2 separate regions of the Homo sapiens genome follow, and region 2 is linked to region 1. The links are contacts of gene promoters, found by promoter capture Hi-C in human tissues and cell types (Jung and others, 2019). All regions are on one chromosome and are shown on one strand. Each heading gives the region's core, a stretch centred on a gene start or on the middle of the fragment in contact. The rest is flanking DNA. Distances are from core to core; before and after follow the strand shown.

Region 1 (6,844 bases), core at 4,183-6,682:
AAAAGGAAGCCCATCTCATCATCAGCATCATTCCTGCTCTGACCATCATCTAGTCATGTGATAGTTCTTGGTGATCTGGGAAGCTCAGGAAATTCTCTCTGCCCAGCCTCACAGTTGGCTGTATGTAGACTGGGAAGTGTCTGTGGGGAGAAGCATGATGCTGATATATTTACGGTGACAAAATGAATCCATGCCTGGGCCCAAGACAATTCACCCACCAAATTCTGACTCAAGACTAACAGGCATCTCTGTGCAATCCTCACCACCTGTGTCTTTCAGTTATTTGAACGTCACTTGGGAAGAGGGTGTCTGTCACAGTGTGTTCCATGTGGCAGAGCCGATCGAGAGCAGGTGGATGCAGAGAAATCCACTGGGATTTAGACAGCATCAAGCAATCTACGCCCAGGGGTGAGCATTCATTCTCACTTGTCTGCGAGTGTGGGGATTACCGGGATGAGAATGTAGAACTTTCTATGACATAACTGCTTGAGATTCAGGCCAACGTGCATAAGCTGTGGCTCTAGCCATAACCCTGGTTACTAGCACAGTCAGTATCATTTCTTCTCTTTCTTTCTTAGACGGAGTCTTTCTCTGTCGCCTAGACTGGAGTGCAGTGGCGTGATCTCGGCTCACTGCAACGTCTGATTCCTCGATTCAGGGGATTCACCTGCCTCAGCCTCCCGAGTAGCTGCCACTACAGATGCCGGCCACCATGCCCGGCTAATTTTTGTATTTTTAGTAGAGAGAGGGTTTCACCATATTTGTCAGGCTGGTCTCGAACTCCTGACCTTGTGAGCTGCCTGCCTCGGCCTCCCAAAGTGCTGATATTACAGGCATGAGCCACCATCCACAGCCTCTCCTTCTATTTAATGAATTAATTAGATGAGTTGAGATGACACCTGATTCATCGTGGAGTTCTAACATGTTTAAAACATTTTCTAGGAATTACCATTCATTTCAGAGGAATGCAAATTATTAATTTCCAACTTGATACATTATTATATTGTAAATACATCTATGTCCCCATTACATCTATGTTAGAAAATAGAAATTAATCCCATTCTCTCCCAATTATATCCTCTTACTCATTCCCAAAGACAGCTAATCACTCTGTCAAGTTGTAATCCTATAGCTAACTTTTGGCTTTAAAAAATATTCATGTAAATAAAAATTACAGTATTTGCTTCTCTATTTCTTTAGCATAATCAAAAGTAATCGTTATTGCATAGTCACTTTGGACTCTTCATGTCAGGAGAGCAGCAGACAGAGAAAGGAGTTACTATTTGGTGAGGGGTAATTATCCTCAAGCCACATAGTGTAGGAGAATGTATCTATAGCTCAGGTGATTTACTGAGTATATTAACTTACTAGCAGTGCCATGGTAAATTACTGCAAACCAAGTGGCTTAAATTTATTTTTTCACAGTTCCAAAGGCCTCTAGTCTGGAATTAAGCTGTTGGCAATGTTGTTTTCATCTGAAGCCTGCGAGGGAAGTATCTGTTCCAGGTCTCTCTCCTTGACTTGTAGATGTCTATCATTTCCATGTGTGTTTGACATAAGTTTTCTACTATATGCATACTGTCTCTGAATTTCCCCCTTGTGTATAGATATCAGTCATATTTAATCAGAAGCCTAATTGTTTCCAATATGACCTTTTCTTATCACATAACATTTTAAATGATTCTATTTGAACATGAATTTTGGAGGACACAAATTAACCCATAACACTGCAGAATCTCATAGTGTGTCCATGCCCAGTGATAACCACAAAACAGTAAAAACAGTAATCACAGCGGACAGTGGTATAGTAACCAGGGGCTCAGACCCTTCAGGAAGGATGCTCTGAGCTACTCCCTCAGGCAGTTATCTAGACAAACAAGAGTGCTGGCCAGGGGTGAAGGGAGAATAGGACTGGTGGTAATTAATGGAGCTTATGAATCTCAGGTGCACTGTATTATAGCAGCAGTAAGTGTAGCTTATTTCATTGGCCTTCATTTTATATCTCACTTCCTCCCCCAGCTTTTCGTTTCCTTCTTCATTTTTCTTTCTTTCTTTTTCTTCAATCACCCCTTCTCCTTCCTTCCTTCATGTTTTTTTTTGGTTCCTTTATCCCTTCCCTTCCCTTTCCTTTTCCTTCCTTTCTTCCTCCCTTCTCTTTTTCTTTTTTGTTTCTTTTCTCTTTCCTCCTCTCATCTTCTGTTCCTTCTCTTCCTCTCCTCTGCTTCTTCCTTCTTTTAGAGCTTGTGGCTCTCCATCACATTTAAACAGCAAAGATTTGACTTGAGTGGAGCTAATTGTAGATCTCAGACAAGTTTTCGTAAGTGCGCCCATATATCTTGCATGTTAGTGTGCTTGGATTAATTTCCATCTGTCAGAGTCCGCATCTCTGTGGCCAAGGGCTCTTGTATTGCAGCTGTAGAAAGTCATGCCACCTGTGAATGCAACACAGAGAAAAACACTCAACCAATGATTCTGGAGAGCTGATTTATAAAGACTCTAGCTTCCTCATTCCTGAAGTAGGATAATTCTAGCTGTGTGTTTTTCATCATTTCTGATAGTTTTCCCTTTAGTTTAAGCTTTAGTTGGTGACTGTGATACTGACTTTATAGTGTACCCTTTTCTGTATCACTTCCCCAATTCCTACCGGTGTGATCTGCACTTCCCAGTAAACTAGTTTCACTGGAATCTTTTCTTCAAAGTCTTTTCGGGAGAAACTAATCTATGACATTATGTTAACTCCCTCAGCCTCAATTTTCTTATCTCTACGCTGGGAATATTAATACCTATTCTGAAAGTTTGTTAAAGAGTTAATAATAATGTACACAAAGTGTTTAGCAAATACCCATCCTATAGCAGGCAATCCAGAACATATTAGTGTTTCTTGTTCAGAAAATTACCAATTTTAATGTTGAAGATAGGAATATTTTTGTAATAATTAACTAGATCAACTAAATACTTTTTTTCCTAGCTGTATTGAGGTATAATTGACAAATAAAAGTTGTATCTATTTCAGGTATACAAGGTGATGTTCTGATATATATATTCCTTGTGAATAATATGTTTATTAGGTCACGAAGCTACCATTTCCTTTTAATTTTTGTGGTGTGAACATTTAAGATCTACCTTCTTGGTAAATTTCAGGTATATGATAAAGTGTTATTAACTATAGTCACATTACTGTACAGTAGACATGCTGAACTTATTCATCTTTCATAAATGATGCTAGTCAAAGAGAATGTCCTAGTTTTCATCTCCTTTACTTCAACCCTGAACGATGATCACAGTAAGTGGCCGTTGTCTCTTAGCCAAGTCTTCAGAGCATTCTAGATTCACAGTCTCAGAAGTTGGCATCTGTCATGGAAATCTACATTTTTAGCTGATCAGAGGTAATTCTAGCACTCCAGTGCTGGTAGGAGGTCCGAAGAAGGTGACCCAGGTCCCCAACTTTTATATTTCTCTCAGAGCCTGTATCAATCAATCTTTCCATGGGTGAATGCTTAGCTTACATCGGTTCAGGACCCAAAGCACTAACCTCTGTCTATTATGACTTCTATGAATGCACAAGTTCTACTTTGCTCCTTTCTTACATTCTTCTGATTTCCCTGGAAACACAAGTTTTTCATTTCTTTGAATGCTTCCTATTGGCCTCACAAAATGCAGAAGGCTGTTTCATTCCCTTACTTGGCTCAGAGATTATGGATTGTGCCAAGTCTTACATGCCCATTGTGTAGTTTCTCAATTCTCAGCTTTGTTCTTACATAATTTCCCTCATAACATTACAATTAGGGGACAAATTGTCTTAATGTGGCAAAATGTATGGTCTGCATTTTACAAGAAATAACTTAGTTTCATTTACTTCATCAATAGGTATTCAGGAGATGAAGGCTGTATAAGTATTTTATTTACATGATATTGACAACAAGTTTCTTCAGATGAGACTCTCTCTCATGAGTCCACAATAAATTCCCAAGCTTTTTTTGATGTAGATGAATTGAATGAGTGGCTGGTCAGAGGCTGAGACAAAAAGAGCTCCCTGCATTCAGGGCAGCCATTAAATGCAGTCCCTGCTGCCATATCACGCAGCTGTTTCTCACTGAGGTGTGGGAAATTGGGAATTTTTTGTAAACAAAAACGTTATCTGCAAATATAAGAGATTATTTGTCCTATTGTTAAAAAAACTCAAGTATATGACTTGCTAATACTTACTTCCAATGTCATTTCTACTATATTGAGAGTTAAATGTAAGTGTCCTTGGGCAGAAAGAGAGGACCTCAGCTTGGACAAGAGTCTGCCCTTTACTAGCTACATAACATCACACATTAAATTGTTCTCAGCTGAAAAAATGGAGGTAATAACACACGACCATCTGTTTTGAGAATCAAATTGGATAATACCTATGGTATGTGATATGTGTGTAAATCTCATATCAGGAATGCTTTCATATAAAACAAAACACCATATGAGATGAGGATGGTTCAGAGTTTATTCAGAAACATATAGCTAAGAATCTCTGCTGGTAGCAGAAACATAACCCAAAGTTATGAAAAGAAGAAAGAAGGATACAAGAACCATGAGGAGGATATTGAAAACAAAAATATGATTGCAAAGATTATTGATCAGTTGCAGAAACCTAAATTCCTTAGAAGCAGAGAATGAAGCTCTTGACTTTTGAGTCAAAGCTGAGACCATGACTCAAAATTGAGAACACACGAAGCTGGCACATGATCCACAAAGTGTAAGGAAAAAGAGAATCAGGATGAAGTATTCTGCCCTCCCTCAAGTAGATTCCCAAGATTTTAAACAGGTAGAGAATTCATAAAAATTTGGGTGAGAGCATGGTGGCTGTCAGCAGCAAATTAAATTAGTCCCCCAAAAGATAAGTCAGTTGAGCAGAAAGTTGTTGTGTGAGGATGGTGGTTCTCTTGGGACTTGATCAGCAGCAAAAAGGCTGACAGCAGCTGGACACACAGGTGGGCTGGAAGCAAGTGGTCTCACAGCAGGCTGGGCGGCAGCAGGGCTGGCAGCAGTTGGAGCCACAGCTCTGGTTTAGGCAACCAGGCAGGCAGACAGTTGTGGGGTAGTAGCAGGTTCTTCTGCAGTACACAGGTGCACAGGAGCTGCTCTGGTCACAGCTGGACCCACAGCAGGTGGGCTGGCAGCAGGGTGTGCTGCAGCAGGAAGGCTGGCAGCAGCTGGTCACACAGGTGGGCTGGCAGCAGGTGTTTTGACAGCAAGTTGGGCGGCAGCAAGGCTGGCAGCAGCTGGAAACACAGCAGGAGGGCTGGCAGCAGGGTGTGCTGCTGCAGGTGGTCACAGTGGTGGGCTTCCAGCAGGTGGTCCTGCAGCAGGTGGTCCTGCAGCATGTAGGCTGACAGCAAGGGGAGCAACAGTGGGTCATGGTGTCAGGGGTAGAGGGTGGGCTTCTGTTCAGAGGTGAGTTTCCCAGAATCTGATGACCCCTTGCAATCTGGACCTTTTATACACCTGGCCTCCAAAGTTTCCACCAATCAGCAGGACTTTTCCTTGTTTCCGTTTACATTGTTTTCCCAGTCCGTTTGTGATTCTCAAAGGGTAGTTGTTTCCTTAAGGTTAAACAGATTAAGGTTTAATCTGTTTCTTAATTGTGAATTACTCATAGACACTTTGTTTCAGATAAAAGGAAGGCAATCTCATCATCAGCATCATTCCTGTTCTGACCATCATCTGGTCATGTGATAGTTCCTGTTGATCTGGGAGGCTCAGGAAGTTCTCTCTGGCCAGCCTCATGTTTGGCTGTATGTAGACTGGGAAGTGTCTGTGGGGAGAAGCATGATGCTGATATATTTACAGTGACAAAATGAATCCATGCCTGGGCCCAAGACTAGTCACCCACCAAATTCTGACTCAAGACTAGCAGGCATCTCTCTGTGCAACCCACACCACCTGTCTTTCAGTTCTTTGAACATCACTTGGGAAGAGGGTGTTTGTCACAGTGTGTTCCATGTGGCAGAGCAGATCGAGAGCAGGTGGATGCAGATAAATCCACTGGGATTTAGACAGCATCAAGTAATCTATGCCCTGAGTGACCATTCATTCTGACTTGTCTGTGAGCGTGGCGATTCCAGAATGAGAATGTAGGACTCTCTATGGCATAAATGCTTGAGATTCAGGCCAACCAGCATGTGCTGTGGCTCTAGTCGCAACCCGGTTACTAGCACAGTAAGCAGCATGTCTTCTCTCTCTCTCTCTATTTCTTTTTAATGAAGGAATTAGATGAGTTGAGATGATGCCTGATTCATCATGGAGTTCTAACATGTTTAAAACATTTTCTAGGTATACCATTCATTTGAGAAGAATGCAAATTATTAATTTTCAACTTGATATAGTATTATATTGTAAATACATCTGTGTCCCCATTACATCTATGTTAGGAAATAGAAATTAATTCCATTCTCTCCCAATTATATGCTCTTACTCATTCCCAAAGACAGCTAATCACTCTATCAGTTGTAATCCTGTAGGTAATTTTTGGTTTTTTAAAGTTTTCATGTGAATAAAAAGTATAGTATTTGCTTCTCTATTTCTTTGGCATAAACAAAAGTAATCTTTATCGCCTAGTCATTTTGGACTCTTCATATAAGCAAAGCAGCAGACAGAGAAAGTAGTTACTATTTGGTGAGGGATAATTACCCTCAAGCCATATAGTGTAGCAGAATATATCTATAGCTCAGGAGATTTACTGAGTATATTAATTTACTAGCACTGCCCTGATGAATTACTGAAAAAAAGTGGCTTAAATTTATTTATCAAAGTTCTGAAGGCCTCTTTTCTGAAATTAAGGTGTTGGCAATGTTGTTTTCATCTG
Region 2 (7,069 bases), core at 2,548-5,047, 480 kb after region 1:
ATACCCTCTCACTTAACTTTTTAATTAACCAGTCCTCACATCATATACCCTCATATCAAAATTAGGAAAAGGAAACATCCTACCACGTAAGAGTTGAAAAGTTACATTCACGCAAAAACCTGTGCACAGATGTTTATAACAGCTTTATTCGTAATTGCCAAAACTTGGAAGCAACCAAGATGTCCTCTTGGTTGACGAATGGATAAATAACTGTGGTACCTCTAGACAACAAAATATTATTTAGTGCTAAAAAGCTATGAGCTATCAAGCCATGAAAAGACACAGAGGAACCTTAAATGTATATTACTAAGTGAAAGAAGCCAATCTGAAAAGGCTACATACTGTATGACCCCAACTATATGACATTCTGTACAAGGCGAAACTATGGAGATAGTAAAAAGATAATTGGCTGCCAGAAATTGGAGGTGAGGGATGCACAGGCAGAACACAGAGGATTTTTAAGGCTGTGAAAATACTCTGGATAATATCATAAGAACGGATACGTGTCATTATACATTTTCCAAACCCGTAGAATATACAACACTAAGAGTAAACGGTAATACTAAAAAGTCTTTAATTTTTTTTTTTTTTTTTTTTTTTGAGACAGTCTCGCTCTGTCGCCCAGGCTGGAGTGCAGTGGCGCCATCTTGGCTCACTGCAAGCTCCGCCTCCTGGGTTCAAGCCATTCTCCTGCCTCAGCCTCCCGAGTAGCTGGGACTACAGGCGCCTGCCATCACGCCCGTCTAATTTTTTTGTATTTTCAGTAGAGACGGGGTTTCACCGTGTTAGCCAGGATGGTCTCGATTTCCTGACCTCGTGATCCACCTGCCTCGGCCTCCCAAAGTGCTGGGATTACAGGCGTGAGCCACCGAATACTTAGCTCAGATTTCACAGTATTTGAAACGCCTGACCACCAACTCACCATAACTCAGGAAATAAATTCTTTCTGCTAAAACCAGGCCAATATTTAAAACCTTTAAATATGACTTCCAGGAAAGAGTCAATAATAGTTGATAACCAGCACTTACTAGGTGCTAGACTCTGTTCTAAGCATCATTTATTCCTCACAACAACCCTATGAGGTAGGTACTGTTATCGTCCTCGTTTTACAGATAAGGAAACGGAGGCAGAGACTGGTTGAATAATTTGCCCAAGATCACACAGTAATAACATGAAGTGCTGAAATACGTAAACCACACAGAATAGCTCAGAGTCTGGTGCTTCACCACGACATAATACCATGCTAGTGAGAACTTTATGACTCCACCTTCCCTATAACAAGAGAAGGGATAAAGAAACTACGTGCATGCTCACTCCAGTCGGTCTGAGATTAGCAGAGACATCAGTATCTCCTTCTTCCCAAAACAAACCAGGGAAGCCATTTTGTGGGCGGACTTAGTATACCAGAATCTGATTCTCAGGAAAAAAAAAAACAAAAAACAAAACCAAAAATTAGGAATCTAGTGACAAAACAAACCTCATTCAAGTTCAAGAAAAATGGTTATCTAACATAAATATAGAATGTGAATTTTAAACAACAGTGTACTTGAAACTAAACAATAAATGTATCAGGGGAAAATTAGCATATGATCATTAGAATAAGATAATGTAATGAAAAACTTTATCCTGAAATAAGGAGACAGCAACACTGCATAAAGCTTAATTCGATTCATTTTGAATATCTAAAATACGTATGCACATCATGTAATGTTCTACTATCTAGTAGATTATCAAGAAATGATCTATTATGTACATCCATTCTTGCCATGGATAAAATAATCAATCCCGGGGAAGAAATGTATAGACTGAAGTGGTCCAGAGAATGTGTTAAATCTGTCTCCACTTCCAGAAAGAACTAGAGCATACCTAAATTTTTAAAATAAGTATTAGTTTAGAGGAAAATCTATGATTAAAATAATTTAAAAGACCTACTCACGTGAGTAAATAGGCGACAACATTTCAAGAAGGAGTTAAGCATCATATATTCCAGTCCTGCTTTGATATAGAAATGCTTTGTAATCTGTGTGGCCACTTAGCTTCAGAGACAACTCATCTCCAAAATAGTCCTAATAATATGTGTTTAACTTGTTTCACAAAAGATAATTTGTATTTATAAAGTATCTAGAGATAAATAGATTATGTTAATAATACTTTGAAATCTCATAATAACTCACCTAAGAAACTCAAGCCTTATAAATCATTAAACTGACAATACTCTCTGTTTTTCTTGTTTTATTTCTGGGAAAAATTAGCAAAAGATTAAAAATTTGACCAGGTCACAACAAAATCAGTAAAAAGTCTCTAAACAGGAACTGTATCTAGGTTATCATGCACTGTTCTAAACATAAGCTGATGGTCCAGTTATAGCTCTGTATTTATTATTTATTTTTAAATATTTTTGATTTAGAAAATCCATGCAGTCCACTAAATGTTCCATACGATTTAGTGACAATAATGTTGGATGTTTTCCAAAGGATTCACTATCCACAACATTGAAAAATATCATTCGGAAGAAAATTACTGTTTCAAAACTAAACCCATAATTAGTTAACCAATCAATTTGTATCATTATAGGTGATAGAGACCCGACCCTGTCTGACATGTCCACTTTATTATAATAATTTAAATAATTAACATTTAAAAATGTTTGTGCCTTTCAAACTGTCTTATCGTCATTCATGATTGGAACTGCTCAACATTCATTTGAGACTCTTTGATGCTATTATTTTCATTTGCCCAGTAGGGAAATGATCCAAGCCTGGATAACTTCCCAAGAGCATCAAGGCAAGAGAATAAAGAGTACTTCCCTGTGACAACTTATCTTCTCTCTAGGGTACTATAAGTACTGGTTTTCTAGGTAATGATGAAAACACCTCCCTCCTTATATATTTTACTCCTTGCTAATCAATATGATGCTCACTTCTCAAAATAATTCCTAATGTCTTAAATACATACATTTAAACTAAAAGACAGTAAACACTATTTAGGGGTAGGGAAGTGAACAATTTGGAGACTGTTAGTTGAATTGATGTCCTGCTCCTGGACCAAACCAAGAAATCTCAATCGAATTAATTCTCCACCATCATCACATATTCATGAATTATATTGAAATTAACAATAAGCAGGACTGCAGGATTTCTATTACTTCAGTTTTCAATTCAAGAAATGGTAGATTTCTTTTAAAATCTCCCACTACCAAAAGATCAATAGATGCTGAGATTTTCTGGTTTTGATAAGAAGGAAAACACACACCCAGACACCCAGGGCAGTGGCTCACACCTGTAATGCTGGCCACAGGAGGCTGAGCTGGGTGCTGAGGCTGAGGATCACTGGAGGCCAGGAGTTCGAGACCAGCCTGGGAAACATAGCGAGACCACATATCTTTAAAAAAAGGAAAAAAGAAAAAGAAACGAAAGGAAGAAAGGAAGCACTCAATGAAGTGGGAATACTAGAAATACTCTATGAGCGTTAACAGGACAAAAGTAGGAGACATTTCTCATTGGAATTATTAATTCTTTGTTATATGTGGCAGGGGGAGAATCTAGATTCTATTAATATTCCAGTGGCCAAAAAGATGCACATTTAGTCATATTTAATTTTGGCCTTTGAGGCTATGATTTAGTTTTACTTCACCTGGCACCATTTTTATATATAAAAAATATCCTTGGGGCACCTTTCCACCTACAGACTGGACGCTGTTAAAAATTACCCAATTGTGAAAAACAACAATTAGGATGCAAGTAAATTTTATTACAGACTGGCATAGTCAAGACTGAAATGACCCAGTGAATACTATAAAAGGCCAAGGGAGCTAACAAGTGTGGAAGGTGAACCCTGGCTTTGCTCCTCTTTCTGGGAAGGGGTTGCCCGGCTGTGCTGCCACCATGTCTTTTCGACTTTCTGGTGGATCCAGGAGGATCTGCTCGCGAACTGGGTCTGGTAGGCTGTCCGGTGGAGGAACAGGCTTCGTGGCTGGGAATGTGTGTGTTGGATCGGGAGCAAGAAGCAGCTTTTCTTGTACTCTTGAGGGCATCTCTTCTGGAGGAAGCTTCTGCAATAGCGGTGGAGGGTTGGGAAGTGGTGCCTGTGCTGGTTTTCTTGGCAATGAGCACAGCCTCCTCTCTGGGAATGAAAAGGTGACCATGCAGAATCTCAACGACCGCCTGGCATCCTACCTGGACCATGTGCATGCTCTAGAGGAGGCCAACGCAGACCTGGAGCAGAAGATCAAGGGCTGGTACGAGAAATGTGAGCCTGGCTCTTCCCGGGAACACGATCATGACTATAGCAGATACTTCTCAGTCATAGAAGATCTTAAAAGGCAGGTAAGAAATAGGGATTTGCATACTTTTACTACAGACTTTGTGTGTTGATAATTTAAAGAAGAGAAAATATAAAATGTGCCTAACAAATTTATGTGATGTAAGATTTGTTCACTCTGTATTTCCAGTGCTAAGCACAGTACCTGGCAATAAAATCTTGTAGAATTAAATAATGAAAAAGAAATCATTTCAAAACAGATATAGTCACTTCGTTTTTCATATATTTAGCTCATACCATTTGATCAAAAGTAGTAAAAGTATCTATGTGGCTCTTAAGCTCTGGATGCTTATTATCTGAAGAAAATCCAGATTTCTTTAACATAGAAAAAAGATACTAAAACAGATGTTTGACAGATTAAGAAGATATAAAATCACACTGAAGTCTGGAGCCTCCTTTGACTTTTGGTAATTAACATTTTTCACAATCTTCCCTATTTAGATTATTTCTGCGACCATCTGCAATGCCAGCATTGTTCTACAAAATGACAATGCCAGACTGACCGCTGATGACTTCAGGCTGAAGTAGGTGAAAACAAACTGATTAATTATATTAATAAAAGTTAAAATATTACAATTGGATTAAGGAATATATATTTTGCTTTGAAAACCAAAATGTTTTTCTAAAGCCAGACTAGATCAATAAAGAAATTGAATTAAATAAGCCGTTATAAAAAGAGCTATCATGGTTGGATAGAGTAGCTCATGCCTGTAATCCCAGCACCTTGGGAGGCTGAGGCAGGCAGATCACTTGAGGTCAGGAGTTTGAGACCAGCCTGGCCAATGTGGCAAGACCCCGTCTCTACTAAAAGTACACACACAAAAAAATAGTCAGGCATGGTGGCTCACTCCTGTAATCCCAGCTACTTGGGAGGCTGAGACATGAGAATCACTTGAACCCGGAAGGTGGAGGTTGCAGTGAGCTGAGATGGGGCCACTGCACTTCAGTCTGGGTGACAGAGTGAGACTGTCTCAAAAACAAACAACAAAAAAGAGCAATCACATATTTTTTAAAATCTAAAATCTAGCAATATTTTATTTAATTGTTAAGCACATTGGATGACAAAAATCAGCTCTGAAGAAATAACATCCCCAAAATACAATTCATGAATTGTTAGGTATCTCAAACCATTTTAGCAGTTTGCCATTGCAAGAAGCTTCAGAGGTATGTACAGAACATCATATCTTTCAGCATATGAAATACCTTAAAAAGTTGTGCTTTGCACCTGCCTACGATGACAACTCTCAGGTGCCTTACTAATCTTTCAGGTATGAAAATGAGCTGGCTCTGCACCACAGTGTTGAGGCCGACACCAGTGGTCTTCGCAGAGTGTTGGATGAACTGACCCTTTGTACAACCGACCTGGAGATACAGTGTGAGACCCTCAGTGAGGAATTGACCTACCTCAAAAAAAGTCATGAGGAGGTAAGGAAGCCTGCAGAGTGGCTTCATACAGTTTCTAATTTCCTTCTTGAAGTCCACTGTTCATTTCGTAGCAGGGCATGAACATCAATCAAAATCCTCCACTGAGGATGAATACCGATCCCTTTTCTAGGAAATGGAAGTCTTGCAATATACAGCTGGGGGGAACGTGAACGTGGAGATGAATGCAACCCCAGGAGTGGACCTAACTGTCCTGTTGAACAACATGAGGGCTGAGTATGAGGACTTGGCTGAGCAGAACCGCAAAGATGCTGAAGCCTGGTTCAACGAGAGGGTAGGTCTATGGCAAATTACAAAGGGCTTGCTCAGGAGACAATCAGGCCAGTCACTAACCCTTTCGACAATTACACTTCAGAGTGCAACGCTGCAACAACAGATTTCCGATCATGAGGGAGCAGCCACAGCAGCCAGAAATGAGCTGACCGAATTAAAACGCAATCTGCAAACCCTGGAAATAGAACTTCAGTCCCTCATGGCTGTGGTACGTAGGAATCGCCATTGAATTGAATATATGTGTGAATATGTATAAGTCAATACAGATATAAAAATACATATAACACCAAGTACGTATAACCATTTACATATGACTAAAAGTATAAAATATATTAAATATCAAGAATTCTGTCCCTAAACTCACCAATTCCAAAACTTGAAAAATGCCTTTTTACAATAGAGGAATTTTTTTAAATCTTGCAAATGTTGATTTTCAATTGAAAATATTCAGACCTTATACAAATAATTATTTCTACCTTGAGAATATTTAAAATATGACCATGCCGGCCAAGCACAGTGGCTCACACCTGTAATCCCAGCACTTTGGGAGGCCACGGCAGGTGGATAACTTGAGGTCAGAAATTCAAGACCAGCCAGGCCAACATGGTGAAACCCCATCTCTACTAAAAATATAAAAATTAGCTGGGTGTGGTGGCATGTACCTGTAATCCCACATACTCAGGAGGCTGAGGCAGGAGAATCACTTGAACACAGGAAGAGAGGCTGCAGTGAGCCAAGATCATGCCACTGCACTCAGCCTGGGTGACAGAGCAAGACACAGTCTCAAAAAAATAAATAAAATAATATAAGATGACCATGCCATTTCTCTTTTACACATTCAAGCTTCACTTTGCTTTTCTTTCAGAAACATTCCTATGAATGCTCCTTGGCTGAGACTGAAGGAAATTACTGCAATCAACTCCAGCAAATTCAGGATCAGATAGGGGTGATGGAGGAACAACTGCAACAGATTCGAACAGAAACAGAAGGCCAGAAGCTGGAGTATGAACAGCTTCTTGATGTAAAAATATTT

The links. The method cuts DNA at HindIII sites, captures the fragments that hold promoters and counts their contacts. A contact is called where the count stands out against the background at its distance.
Region 2: the fragment with the promoter of KRT26 here is called in contact with the fragment with the promoter of KRTAP9-4 in region 1 in 1 of the 25 tissues and cell types used here (IMR-90 fibroblasts).

Annotation. Positions count from the first base shown.
Region 1 is chr17:41,248,275-41,255,118 of GRCh38, reverse strand. It overlaps KRTAP9-4 (keratin associated protein 9-4), which reads right to left and starts at 5,432. Exons shown (of 1, transcript NM_033191.3): 1 at 4,466-5,432. The coding sequence starts at 5,398. The coding sequence ends at 4,934. RefSeq lists an enhancer at 5,151-5,705. The HindIII fragment of the contact is 7,447 bases long and covers 3,275-6,844 here.
Region 2 is chr17:40,768,929-40,775,997 of GRCh38, reverse strand. KRT26 (keratin 26) reads left to right here and starts at 3,797. Exons shown (of 8, transcript NM_181539.5): 1 at 3,797-4,325; 2 at 4,762-4,844; 3 at 5,589-5,745; 4 at 5,876-6,037; 5 at 6,119-6,244; 6 at 6,902-7,069. The coding sequence starts at 3,885. The HindIII fragment of the contact is 6,204 bases long and covers 1-4,762 here.